Linked DNA regions of Homo sapiens: all the other regions are linked to region 1. The links are contacts of gene promoters, found by promoter capture Hi-C in blood cells and fetal thymus (Javierre and others, 2016). All regions are on one chromosome and are shown on one strand. The core of a region is centred on a gene start or on the middle of the fragment in contact, and the rest is flanking DNA. Distances in the headings are between cores, read along the strand shown.

Evidence for each region. The method cuts DNA at HindIII sites, captures the fragments that hold promoters and counts their contacts. A CHiCAGO score of 5 or more calls a contact.
Region 2: a contact is called between a fragment that was not itself captured here and the fragment with the promoter of DEFB118 in region 1, in 4 of 17 cell types (M1 macrophages, total B cells, total CD8 T cells and 1 more). The highest score is 6.0, in M1 macrophages.
Region 3: a contact is called between a fragment that was not itself captured here and the fragment with the promoter of DEFB118 in region 1, in 2 of 17 cell types (erythroblasts and endothelial precursors). The highest score is 10.1, in erythroblasts.
Region 4: a fragment that was not itself captured here is called in contact with the fragment with the promoter of DEFB118 in region 1 in 3 of 17 cell types (endothelial precursors, erythroblasts and M1 macrophages); the score reaches 5.5 in endothelial precursors.
Region 5: a contact is called between a fragment that was not itself captured here and the fragment with the promoter of DEFB118 in region 1, in 3 of 17 cell types (naive B cells, naive CD8 T cells and total B cells). The highest score is 5.7, in naive B cells.

Annotation. Positions count from the first base shown.
Region 1 is chr20:31,367,255-31,369,954 of GRCh38, reverse strand. DEFB118 (defensin beta 118) reads right to left here and starts at 1,354. Exons shown (of 2, transcript NM_054112.3): 1 at 1,247-1,354. The coding sequence starts at 1,304. The HindIII fragment of the contact is 1,593 bases long and covers 775-2,367 here.
Region 2 is chr20:31,270,060-31,272,759 of GRCh38, reverse strand. No RefSeq gene overlaps it. Among named protein-coding and RNA genes, the nearest start is that of DEFB115, 14 kb to the right of the region's middle. The HindIII fragment of the contact is 351 bases long and covers 1,271-1,621 here.
Region 3 is chr20:31,447,085-31,449,784 of GRCh38, reverse strand. All of the region lies in intron 1 of DEFB123 (defensin beta 123), which reads right to left. Among named protein-coding and RNA genes, the nearest start is that of DEFB123, 7.8 kb to the right of the region's middle. The HindIII fragment of the contact is 1,907 bases long and covers 436-2,342 here.
Region 4 is chr20:31,249,783-31,252,482 of GRCh38, reverse strand. No RefSeq gene overlaps it. Among named protein-coding and RNA genes, the nearest start is that of DEFB115, 6.5 kb to the left of the region's middle. The HindIII fragment of the contact is 1,326 bases long and covers 668-1,993 here.
Region 5 is chr20:31,298,963-31,301,662 of GRCh38, reverse strand. No RefSeq gene overlaps it. Among named protein-coding and RNA genes, the nearest start is that of DEFB116, 8.3 kb to the left of the region's middle. The HindIII fragment of the contact is 3,064 bases long and covers 1-2,700 here.

The DNA.
Region 1 (2,700 bases), core at 105-2,604:
CTTACATTTAACTTGGTTATTTGCCCTCTAGGAATCTATCCTATTTAAGCCCATATCCATATATGTAAATATATTAATGTTTGTACAAGCATATTCATTGATGTCTTGTTCGAAAATTAAGAAATGTCTCAAATGGCTATATATGACTTTATATGGCTTATCCTACAGCAGAACTATACAACTTTACAAACAATAAGGCAGATCTTTAGATGGTGACATGGAAAGATGGCCACAAAATAATAAGTGAAAGAAGAGTGCTGCATAGGGCCGGGTGCGGTGGCTCATGCCTGTAATCCCAGCACTTTGGGAGACCGAGGCGGATGGATCACCCGAGGTCAAGAGTTTGAGACCAGCCTTGCCAACATGGTGAAACCCCATCTCTACTAAAAATACAAAAATTAGTCGGACATGATGGTGCATGCCTGTAATCCCAGCTGCTTGGGAGGCTGAGGCAGGAGAATTGCTTGAACCCAGGAGGCAGAGGTTGCAGTGAGCTGAGATTGCGCCACTGCACTCCAGCCTGGGTGACAGATTGAGATTCCATCTTCAAAAAAAAAAAAAAAAAAAAACACAAGAGTGCTGCATAGCCATGCAGGGAGTGTGCTTACTTCGTTATAAAACAGAAATATTTAGATTCATTTTTATGTAAGTTCGATCATACATTGAAATGCACCTTGAAAAACATAAAGGAGAAACAGGCTCTCTTCACCAGTGATTTCAAAGTTCTGGTCATGCCTTTAGATATACTTAAGAAAGCAGTGATTATGAAAAGCTTAGATTTTCACTGTAGAAGGAAGAAGAAAAGCCAGTTCTGTCTTCCGTGTAACAGCTCTACCAGTGTTTTCTGACTTGTTCACCAAATTCTAGAATATTAGAAAACAAAAAGAACCTCATTATAGCTATAGCAGGACTTTTAGGGCCAAGAAAACATAGCAAAGTGGGCTGCAGGAATCATTTTCAAAAGCTGGCACAATCTGGAAAGAGAACAGATGTGAGCCGAGCTTTCCCCTAGTTTCTTAGGCGGCAACTTGGAATATAGAACCAAGGACAACTCTGGATGGTGGGACTGCCCCTGTCTATTGAGGATAACTTGCTCTACTCCCAGGTTTTACCCCAGCCAGGAGCATAGTCCCAGTGTGGGAACTGTGGAGCTGCCCATGTTGGGGAGTACCGTGACACATTGGAATTTTCATGAGCCAGAACCCACTATACCTCTATTTTTGTATCTTCCCTGACCTCTGATTACCTGGGATCACTTGGGGTAGGAGCACAAGCATAGGAAGAGCCAGCAGCAGGAGTTTCATGGTCCTTGGGAAGCAGGAGGTGGTAGATCCAGGAGTTCAGAATACTGTGTGCAGTGTGAGTCTGAACAAGAGTTTTATTGGCCTCTCTGCAGTGGGGGCAGAGGGATGGGCACAGAACCAGCCGGATATCTAAGAGCTTATCCATGCATAACATCAGTCTAGTGTGTGGCACATAAGCTGAGCATTTGATCCAGGCACTGGGAGGGCATGCAGAGGGTTACAAGTCACAGGTTTTGAGGAGGTGTTTGGAGCAATGGAGAGGGAAGATTCACACTGGGACATCTTCCCTAGCTTTCCCCGATCTCTCATTAGGGCTCAGCCCTTCTTCACAGCCCCTCTCACTCTAGCATAAACCTACTTTTGAATGGTCTACTTATCTGTGTGTCTCCCCGCACCAGCCTGTGAAATTCCTGAGAGTAGGGAACGTGTCTTTCATTTTTGAGCCCCCAAGGCACGAAGCATGCTCTCAGTGAAGGTTTGTGGAAATAAACGATAATGAACACATGTCAATCTATAAGCCAAATCCCTCTCTTACATATGTGCCCAACAGGGAAAATGACTTGCCCAAGAAGTCACTTGCTGCAGAAGTTTGAGGGAGATCATTTATAAGACTCAAAGGGGGATGCTACCCAATGTCATTAAAAAAAAAATTCCCTAGCTGGGTGTGGTGGTGGGTGCCTGTAATCCAAGCTACTCAGGAGGCTGAGTCAGGAGAATCGCTTAAACCCAGGAGGTGGAAGTTGCAGTGAGCTGAGATCGCACCACTGCACTCCAGCCTGGGCAACAGAGTGAGACTCTGTCTCAAAAAAAAAAAAAAAAATCCCTGCTGAAGACAGATCTACAATAATTTGGGATGTTACCTTTGACAACGGCACCATGAGGGTCATCAGAGGTCTGGGAGCTGTCCATGAAGACCCCAACATTTAGACTTGCCTTTGGGATGTGGAACCTCGATGTCACCCCCAGAGTCAGCCTAGGTCCTGCATTGCTTTAGTTGCATTTTCATCGTGTTTCAACTTTTGCTCCCTCTTGTTTACTCGGCTCTAAAAGTCTCTGTAAAGCTTTTACAGAGGAGGTTGCTGATTTTTCTCTTCTGGAATTGATAACTTTCACTGTGAGAATAATTGATGGGAATTAGCAGGGTTGCCATGTGATTGAGGAGACTTCTCTTCTGGATGGAACCATGTGGAAAGCGTAGCATGGTGGTGGGCTATTTTCAAATTAATTTTGTTTTATGTTTTTATTTTTTTGAGACAGGATCTCGCTCTGTAGCCCAGGCTAGGGTGCAGTGGTGCGATCACAGCTCATTGCAGCCTCAAGCTCCTGAGCTCAAGCAATCCTCCCACCTCAGCCTCCTGAGTAGCTGGGACTGCCCAGGTATTCACCACCATGCCCG
Region 2 (2,700 bases), core at 197-2,696, 97 kb after region 1:
CTAGTCTTTGGGCCCCAGGTCGGATGCACAGGCACCAGCAGTGGCAGTGTAATGCCCTGAGTGGGATGGTCCTTGGTTACTCAAGCAGAGTGTAAATGCTGGCTGGGCAGTTCCTCCTTGGGCCCCCAGGTGGGCACCCAAGTGCTGGCAATATCTCTAGTTGGGTGAGTGGACTGGTTTCATTTCCTGAGTGGAGTAGTTGGGAGCTGGTGGTTTCTGTAGTGGGTTGGGCAGGTAAGTCTCTGGGCCCTTGGGTGGTATTTATGGTGTTTCATGGCCCCACTGCTGGAGAGGAGTGAGGTTGCTGTTGGTGGCAGCAGGTCCAGGAAGGTTGCTCTCAGGCTCTGGGGAGCTCACACTTTGGTTCTCTATGTCCTTGAGCCAGTATACCGGTTGTGTTGGACCATCTGTTCCCTGGGGTGTGGGATGTTGTGTGGTCTCAGATGCTGGCAGTGTGGTTGTGCCACTGGGCTTAGCCAGCACTATGATGCTGCAGCCCTTTGAGTGGGTGTGGGTGGATATTGGTGAGGTCTCAGGGTTGTGGAGATGCAGGAGCTATTGGTCTCCATGGCGGGATATAGTCTGTTGTTGTATTTGCTCTCAAAATGGCACCATACTATAGCAGCCTGCATTCCAGGGATGGGCCCCTGTGCAAATTCTCTCCCTGGAACAAATGCAGTCACGTGGATTCCAGGCAGCTTTCCAGACTAGGCTCAGGACATGTGAGGGTCTAGGAGCTTTTCTGCAGTTAGAACTTCAGGCATTTCTGGTGGGAGTGTGGACTGATACGTATCTTTCAGTTACCTTTTTCCCAACAATGCGGAGTTCCTCCTGGCTCTGAGCTGATTCAGCTGGCTGCCTTGATTCCTTCTCTATGCTGCCATCTTGAGCTTTTGTGCCTCAGAGTCCCTGTTGCTTCTCTGCTGGATTCCAGCATTCTCTTCTAGACACTTTATTTGATATGTGGTTATCTATTATGTTGGTTCATAGGTAATTGAAGTTTTCTATCATTACCTTTAACGCCCCAAACCACATTTACTTTTGCACCAACCTAATACTGTTTAGTCCTTCTCTGTAAAAGTGGTAAGTTCTGGATGCTTCTAGTCAGCCATCATGATCTATATTTACCAGTGGGTTTTGTACTTTCAAACATTATAGTCTTACTAAGTAGCATCCTTTTATTTCATTAGAAATAATTCCCTTTAGTCTTTCTTGTAAGGCAAGCCTTGTGCTGATAAACTCCCTCAGCTTTTCTGTGTCTAGGAAAGCTTTATCTTTCCTTCATTTGTGGAGTGCAGATTTCCTGCATAAAGTATTCTTGGTTGGCAGTTTTTTTTCTTCAACACTTTGGATATATCATTGCATTCTCCTGGTCTGTAAGGTTTTTACTGAGAAATCTGTTGCTAGCCTTATTGGAACTCCATTACAAGTTATTTGCATATTTTCTCTCGCTGCTTTCAAGATGCTCCCTTTGTCTTTGATTTTTGACTGTTGAGTGTATGTCTTCATGTAGTCTTTTTGAGTTTAATCTGATTCAAAACCTTTAACCTTCTTGTATCTGTATATTTATATCTTTTTCCAGATTTGGGAAGTTTTTTACTCTTATTTCTTTAAATAAGCTTTCTACTCCTTTGGCTCTCTCTTCTTCTTCAGAAACTTATAATTTGAATATTTGTTCTTTTGGTGCTGTCTCATAAATCCTGTAATGTTTTTTCATTCTTTTTGTTTATTTTTCTCATTTGACTGTATGTTTTCAATTTTACAGATTCTTTCTTCTGTTTGATCAATTTTGCTGTTGATGCTTTTTATTGTATTTTTTATTTATTCATTGTGTATTTCAGCTCTATAATTTAAAACAATTTCAATTTCTATTAAATTTCTCATTTTGTCATTTATTGTTTTCCTGATTTTACTGAATTGCTTCTCTGTATTTTCTTGGAGTCTGCTGAGCTGCTTTATTTATTTACTTATTATTTTTATTTTTTTTTTGAGACAGTCTCACTTTATCACCCAAGCTGGAGTACAGTGGTACGATCTCAGCTCACTGCAAACTCCACCTTCCAGGTTCAAGAAATTCTCCTGCCTCAGCCTGCCAAGTAGCTGGGACTACAGGTGTCTGCCACCACACCCAGCTGAGTTTTGTATTTTTAGTAGAGACAGGGCTTCACCATGTTGGCCAGGCTGGTCTTGAACTCCTGACCTCAGGTGATCCACCCACCTCGGCCTCCCAAAGTGCTGGGATTACAGGCATGAGCTACCGCACCCAGCCTGCTTAGCTTCTTTAAAACAATTATTTTGATTTCTTTGTCACACAGTTTGTATATTTCCATTTCTTTAGGGGACCAGGTACTAGGAAATTATCATATTCTTTGTTATTATGTGTCCTTGGTTTTTAAATGTTTCTTATGTTAATATCATCATATTTGATGGAGCAATCACCTTTTTCAGACTTTACAGGTTAATTCTGGTGTGGAAAGACCTGCCTCTATGGAGGGAGGGGAGTGCAAGGGTGCTTTCTGAGTGAAGGGTAACTGTTCTGGCATCACTGAAGGTACAGTGGTATAATGTCTGTGCAGCTCTGTCAACTGATGCTGGTGTTGATTAAAATTGCAGGAATCCTTAGTGACCAATACTGTGGATGCCAGCAGTGGCAGTGAGGATTGCTGAGGTCTTTGATGGTGTTGGCTGCTAAGGTCTTCT
Region 3 (2,700 bases), core at 140-2,639, 80 kb before region 1:
TTTTTTTTTTTTTTTTTGAGATGAGTCTTGCTCTGTCACCTAGGCTGGAGTACAGTGGAATGATTCTGGCTCACTGCAAACCTCCTCCTCCCAGTTCAAGGGACTCTCCCACCTGAGTTTCCCCGAGGAGCTAGGACAACAGACATGTGCCACTATGCCTGGCCCACCCTGTAGTCTTTAAGTGCCTTTCTGTGCATGTGCAAGAGGAAACTACCAAAGGCCTGAGGGGGAGAAAAATACCAAACACCAAAAAGAAGTAAGCAGAACAATTCCCAGTGATTGCACAGGTCTGGGAATAGCTTGTGTTTCCACCTGCCTGAGTGGAAAGACCCTGTAAAATCTGCAGCATTTAGTACTCGGAAGGCTATTGCCTTAGTAGTGGGGGCTAAATTAACCCTAGACTAAAGAATACCCTGTACCCATCCTAACAAAGCTTAAACGTCAGTCTTGAAAATATTCATCTGATTCCCACTAACTTAGCTGCATGCAAGAAAAATATCTAACTCTTTAAAGGAGTGTAACAAAATACAGAAACTGAAAGTGTAAAAATATTTTTCAGGCATACAAAAAAAAAAAGCAGGAAAATATGACCCATAACCAGGAGAAAAACAAATCAACCAACACAGAAATGACAATGATGATGAAACTAGCAGACAAGGATGATAAAACAGCTATGATAAATATGCTCCAAGTAGTAAAAAAGGTGGAGGAAGCCATGAGCATGATGAGAAGAAATAAAGATGTAAAAAATATTCATGGCCGGGCACGATGGGTCAAGCCTATGATCCCAGCACTTTGGGAGGCCAAGGTGGGTGGATCACCTGAGGTCAGGAGTTCGAGACCAGCCTGACCAACGTGGAGAAACCCCATCTCTACTAAAAATACAAAAAAAAAAAAAAAAAAAAATTAGCTGGGCGTGGTGGCACATGCCTGTAATCCCAGCTACTCAGGAGACTGAGGCAGGAGAATCGCTTGAACCTGGGAGGTGGAGGTTGCAGTGAGCTGAGATCGTGCCATCGCACTTCAGCCTAGGCAACAAGAGCGAAACTCTGTCTCAAAGAAAAAAAAATATATATATGTATATATTCACATGGAATAGTTGAGATGAAACATTAAATATTAAATGAAAAACATACTAAGTGAGATTAATAGTAGGTTAGACTGAAGAAGAAAAGATAAATGAACTTGAAGACATAGCAACAGAAATCATCCAAAGTGAAACATGGAGAGAAAAAGATGGGGGGAAAAAAGAGCAGAGTGTCAGTGACCCATGGGACAATAACAAGTAGTCTAACATGCATATAATTGGAATACTAAAAGGAGAGGAGAGGGGAGGGGCAGGAAAAGTATTTGAAGTAATAATGGCTGAAAAATTTCAAGTTTGATGAAAACTCTAAGCCCATAGAACCATGACCCTCGGTGAACTACAAGCTGAATAAAACCAAAAGAGAAGCATGCAAAGGCACATAATAATCAAATTGCAAAATCAAGTGAAAGGAAAAAAATCTTTAAAAAGCCAGAAGAAAAGACACGTTATGTACATAGGAGAAAAGGTAAAAATACTGGAAGAGGCTGGGTGTGGTGGCTCACACTTGAAATCCCAGCACTTTGGGAGGCTGAGATGGGAGGATTGCTTGAGCCCAAGAGTTTGAGACCAGCCTAGGTGAGACCCTGTCTCTCCAAAAAAATAAAAAAATTAGGCCAGACGTGGTGGCTCACGCCTGTAATCCCAGCACTTTGGGAGGCCAAGGTGGGCGGATCATGAGGTCAGGAGATCGAGACCATCCTGGCTAACACAGTGAAACCCCGTCTCTACTAAAAACACAAAAAATTAGCTGGGCATGGTGGCAGGCGCCTGTAATCCCAGCTACTTGGTAGGCTGAGGCAGGACAATGGCGTGAACCCGGGAGGCAGAGCTTGCAGTGAGCCGAGATAGCGCCACTGCACTCCAGCCTGGGCGACAGAGCGGGACTCCGTCTCAAAAAAAAAAAAAAAAAAAAAAAAGCCGGGTGTGTTGGTGTGCACCTGTAGTCCCAGCTACTAGGGAGGCTGAGGTGGGAGGATCACTTGAGCCTGGGAGGTCGAGGCTGCAGTGAGCTGTGGTCACGCCACTGCACTCTACCCTAAGTGACAGAGTGAAACCGTCTCAAAGAAAGGAAAAAAAAAAACCAACACAGAAGACTTATTGTCAGAAACTGCACACTAGAAGATGGTAGAGAGAGATCTTTAAAGTAATAAAAGGAAAAAAGCCCAGAATTCTTTACAGAGGAAAAATATTCTAAAAGTGGAGAAATAGACTTTTTCATGTATTTGAAAACGGAGAACATTGATCACTGAAAGCTTTCACTACAAGAAATGCTAAAGGAAGTTATTCAGGCAGAAGAAAATGGTACCAGAGGGAAATCTGGATGTCTACATAAAGGAGTAAAGAGAATCAGAACTGATAACTATGGGTAAATGTAAACAACTTTTGTTCTCAATTAAACATTTATTTATTTTTATTTTTATTATTATTATTTTTTTGAGATGGAGTCTTGCTCTGTTGCCCAGGCTGGAGTGCAATGGCGCAATCTCAGCTCACCGCAACCTCCACCGCCCGGGTTCAAGCGATTCTCCTGTCTCAGCCTCCCGAGTAGCTGGAATTACAGGCATGCGCCACCACGCCTGGCTAATTCTGTATTTTTAGTAGAGACGGGGTTT
Region 4 (2,700 bases), core at 81-2,580, 120 kb after region 1:
ACAAAAAATCTTTGCCTCAGTCTAATGTCATGAAGTATTTCTCCAATGTTTTCTCCTACTAATTCCTTAGTTTCAAGTCTTACATTCAAGTCTTTCAATCATTTTTAGTTGATTTTTGAATATGGTGAAAGATAAGGATCTAGTTTCATTTTTGTTCATGTGGCTATCCAGTTCCCTAGTACCATTTATCGAAGAGACTGTCCTATTCCCAATGTGTGTCCTTGGAAATTTTTTTTAAAGTCAGTTGGCTATAGATGTGCAGATTTGTTTCTGGTCTTTCTATTCTGTTCCATTGGTCTATGTGTCTGATTTTATGCCAATATCAACCTATTTTGGTCACTAGATCTTTATAGTATATTTTAAAGTAAGGTAGTGTGATACCTTTAGATTTGCTGTTTTTGCTCTAGATTGCTTTGGTTATTAAAAGTCTTTTGCAGTTCAATAGAAACAAGGATTGTTTTTTCTATTTCTGTAAAGAATGTCATTAATATGTTGATGACATTCATGGTCCAGGACACATAGCCCTCCTGTGCAAATAACTCATAATCTTCCTGAGCCCAGCTATCACCAGACACTTGCAAGTTAGCTCACTGCAACTTTGGGGTTATGAGTACTGCTCGCAGCACTCTGCAGCCCAAGAACCATTCTTTAAAATCTCCAGCAAGCTTTTGTTTCCTTTCAGTCAGCTCCTCTCGTGCTGATTCTGTTCATTGCTTCTTTGCAACATATTTTCATACTTTCTCTAATAAATCTGCCTTTCTTTACCTACATCTGTCATAGTAAATTATTTTAACCCTGTGCCACTGGCCCAGATAGTTGTCACTCATCTGCGACAGTTTCCCAAAAACTTAACTACTAATAGCCTTGTGAAAGTTGTCAAAATCAAAATGGGTTAAGAAAATCCGGACAAATAGAGCCAGGGAAGGTCATGAAGAGAGGGTTCTCATATTTGTGTGCCTGATAACAAAAATCATCACAAAAGACTGCAAAAGCCACAACCTTAAACAAAGGCCACTGCAACCTTATGCAAAAAAATACTTCTAAAAGGACATCTGCCTAGCAACTACCTGTCGGACTTCAGACTGGCATCACCCTTATTATTGATCTTTGTAATCAAGGATAATTATTTCAAAATAATTATGTCATCCTCCTCATTTTTTCCTTTAAAAGCCTTTGTCATCCTTGACTTCCCTGAATATGCACATAGTTTACTGCGGCATGTGTATTTCCACTGTAATGTTTTATTCCCAAATAAATATATATATGTATTTTTAGAGAGCCACTCTCTGTTATTTAAATTGACAGCCTACTATTGACTGGAAGCCTTGTAAATAACATAAACAGTCAATTAACATATATTTTGTATCTTAAATGTATTATATACAGTATTCTTACAATGAAGTAAGCTAGACAAAATAAAATGTTATTAAGAAAATTATAAGGAAGAGAAAATATATATTTACCATTCATTAAATGGAAATGGATCATCATAAAGGTCTTCATCCTCATTGTCTTCACATTGACTAGGCTGAGGAGGAGAAAAAGGAGGGGTTAGTCTTCCTGTGGCAGGGTGGCAGAGGCAAAAAAAAAATCCACATATAAGTGGAACTGTGCAGTTCAAACCCATGCCGTTCAAGAGTCAACGTATTTGAAAAGCAGCCATGTCTTCTGATCAGCAAAAATACTCATGTATTTAACTTTAGAGTTCTTGCCTATCATTTGCATGCTGTAGAAATTGTTAGCAGAGAAATAACTTGAGATGATGGAGAGTTTTGTTCAATGCCTTACAGAAGTTTTATAAACAGTTCAAACATGATTGTCAAAAACAAGTAAATTAGGCATAAGTGTTCACAAATAAACTCCTCATAGTTTCAAAAAATGTTTTTGGTAATTTGAAATCTTAAAGCAGAATTACATAATATATACCAGTTAAATGTCTTGGTAATTGCTAAATAAGTTAAAATACTAAAACATTAATTATTAAGTATAAGCTTTAAGTTTGTATACTTTGGCATTTTGTTTCTATATGATGTAGACAAACTAAATATATTTGAATCTCTGTTAGTAAATTAAAAAAACTTCTTTGAGGAGCAAAAAACTTGTTTTTTCAAGAACAATTTTTTTCACAATGTCTAAAAATTGTGAAATATATAGTCATAAAATGTTGGTATATTACAAATAGCTCAAATAACTTACTTCCTAGTTATTCACAAAAATTTGTTTGCAAAGTAAGTTTATTCTCAAACTTGGCCTGATTATTAACATAATGAAGCAAGAATAACTACATAGGCTTCTTTTAAAGTTGTTTTGCTGGAAATTTTTACAAGGAATCTCAGATTAGATTTTTAAAAACCTCTCAATGCTAGGAAGCCAAACCAAGGCAGTCATTGAATTTTACCTGCTGTATCTAATATCTTGAGGTTCCTGGGTCTACCCAGAAGTGAAAACTTTTACTCATTCATTATAAGGTTGGGAAACCTTGAAGCCAAGAAGTCTATGCACATTTGTAAATATGACATTCCAGTCAAAGCCTTGGAAATACAATTTGTGTTTTCAGTTGTATCCTGTTATAAAGAGAACTAAGTCTTATTGAACTTATGCAAATAGCCATAAGGCCATAAGAATAAGAATACTCACAAATAGTTTCCAAATTCTGGAGGGATTACACATGGAGGAAAATCAAAAGTCTCAATTTTTGTT
Region 5 (2,700 bases), core at 30-2,529, 68 kb after region 1:
GTGAGACTCTGTCTCAAAAAAAAGAAAAAAAAAGAAAAAAAATTTAAAATTTGGAAGAAAGTATTGGCCTTGGATTCAGTAGCATAGTTGAGATATAATGTTTCCAGACTTTCTACTTTGGAAGTATTTGGAGAAGAAAAATTGTTGTGAATTTCAGGTTTAAGGTATAGATTGCTATTTCCCTGCCTCCACGTGTATTGAGAAAGAAACACGAATATGAAGTCAGCAGGATTTTTCTCTTGTTCTGTGACTTACATATCGAATTACATATTTGTTCTAATCTCTTGGATTACTCAGCCATTTCAGGCTCAAGATGTCCCAAAAATTAACTCCAAATCTGTTTACCCAGCTTTTCTGTCATCTTCCTATCCTCAGTAATTAGCACCCACAACTTTTCTTTCTGAAAAGCAGTTCTTATAAATGGCAAACACTTATTTAAAACTTTTGAGTCTGGTCATTCTTGTGGAACAATTTGGCATTGTTTGTAAGATCCTAGGAAGAATGGAGGTGGAATATAGGATGTGGGCTGAATTCACACATGACTGTACTTTCAGATTTTTCTCCATATCTGCTGCCCAAAGATACCATTGCTCCCAACTTGAGCTCAGAAATGCTTTGTATTTTCCAGTAGAGACTATCGGATGAGTCTGACCATATTTTTTGCTTGTCTGTTAACCCTTACCATGTGTACCTGAGAAAAATCAGATTACTCTTTTAGGTTAGACCCCACAGAGTGGGGTCCTCAGTTGAATGACCAAGAAGAAATTCCATTTCTGTTTAGCTTATATTAAACTACTGTGGTATTACTCGATATAATTTGGAATTGGTGACCAGAAATTACCCCCCCAACTAGTGGGCTTTTTTCCTGCTTTGTCCTGAGGACAGGATGTCCCAAAATATCTAAGAGAAAAATCTGGAAATTTCCCATTTTGGCCAGAAAGCAGTCATAGTATTTGTGGAAAGAAGAGGCTTACAAAAGAAATCAAAATTCTAACTTCTCATTCACAGAAAGACCTATAAGAGACTAAAAAGCATCATCAATGAAACTCAAAGGCAAAAATAAATAAATAAATAACCCTCAGAAGCCCTTTCAGATTCATGTAAAAAACCCACTGGCAAAAAGACAAAAAAAAATTAGAAAAACAGTTGTATTTATTTTCAAACTTAAAAAGCAACCAAATACCAGAGTTTCTATGTGCCTCTAGATTTTCTACAGAGATTCCTGAAACTCTATTAAATTGCCTCCATATAAGATTAAGCCCTCAAATCATTTGCACTAAAATTTCTTGTGTTTGGAAGAATATGCCCTAGAAAAAAATGATAAAGAGAAACTATTCCATTTAGATTAAATACACTAAAGACCTTTCACCAGGTTTACTCTGTTTTATGGAAATTAATTTTCCTGCTGTACAAACATAATAGATAAAAATAGAGAACTGTCTCCTCAGAGTATGTTTTAAATTACCAAGGCCAAGGGGGTAGATACATTTATTGTATTTTAATTTAATTTAATTACTTATTTTATTTTTATTTCCATCTTTCCTTTTATTCTTCTGTGCTGTTGCTCTTCCAGATTCCTGGATTACAGCAGTCCTCACTGATTTTACTCTTCTTTACATTGTTAAAGTCTTTATGATTGTATTTTATTTTATTTATTTTTAAAAGTTGTTTATTATTTATACTGTTTTTAAAATAAATTTTTGTGGGTACATAGTAGGTGTATATATTTATGGGATACATGAGATGTTTTGATACAGGCATGCAATGTGTAATTATCATATCATGGAGATTGGGGTATCCATCCCCTCAGGCATTTACAATCCAATTACATTCTTTTAGTTGTTTTAAAACGTACAGTTAGGTTATTATTAACTATAGTTACTCTGTTGTGCTATCAAATAGTAGGTTTTATTAATTCTTTTTTTTTTTGTACCCATTAACCATTCCCACTTACCCCTACATCCCCACTGCCCTTCCCAGCCTCTGGTAACCATCATTTTACTCTCTATGTCCAGAAATTCAATTGTTTTGAGTTTTAGATACCACAAATCAGTGAGAACATGTGATATTTGTCTTTCTGTGCTGGCTTATTTCACTTAACATAATGAATTCCAGTTCCATCCACATTGTTGCAAATGACAGCATCTTATTCTTTTTAATGACTGAATAGTATTCCTTTGAGTATATGTACCATATTTTCCTTATCCATTCATCTGTTGATGGATACTTAGGTTGCTTTCAAATCTTAGCTGTTGTGAACAGTGCTGCAACAAACATGGTAGTGCAGATACCTCTTCAATGTACTGATTTCCTTTCTTTTGGGGATGTACCCAGCAGTGGGATTGCTGGATCCTATAATACCTCTATTTTTAGTGTTTTGAGGAGCCTCCAAACTGTTCTCCACAGTGGTCATACTAACTTAAATTCCCACCAACAGTGTATGAGGGCTCCTTTTTCTCTACACCTTTGTCAGCATTCATTATTGCCTGTCTTTTAGATAAAAGCCATTTTAACTGGGGTGACATGATATCTCGTTGTAGTTTTGATTTGTATTTCTCTGATGATCAATGATGTTGAGCACCTTTTCACATGCCTGTTTGTCTTTTATATATCTTCTTTTGAGGGATGTCTATTCAACTCTCTTGTCCATCTTTGATTGGATTATTAGATTTTTTTTCTATAAAGATGTTTGAGGTCCTT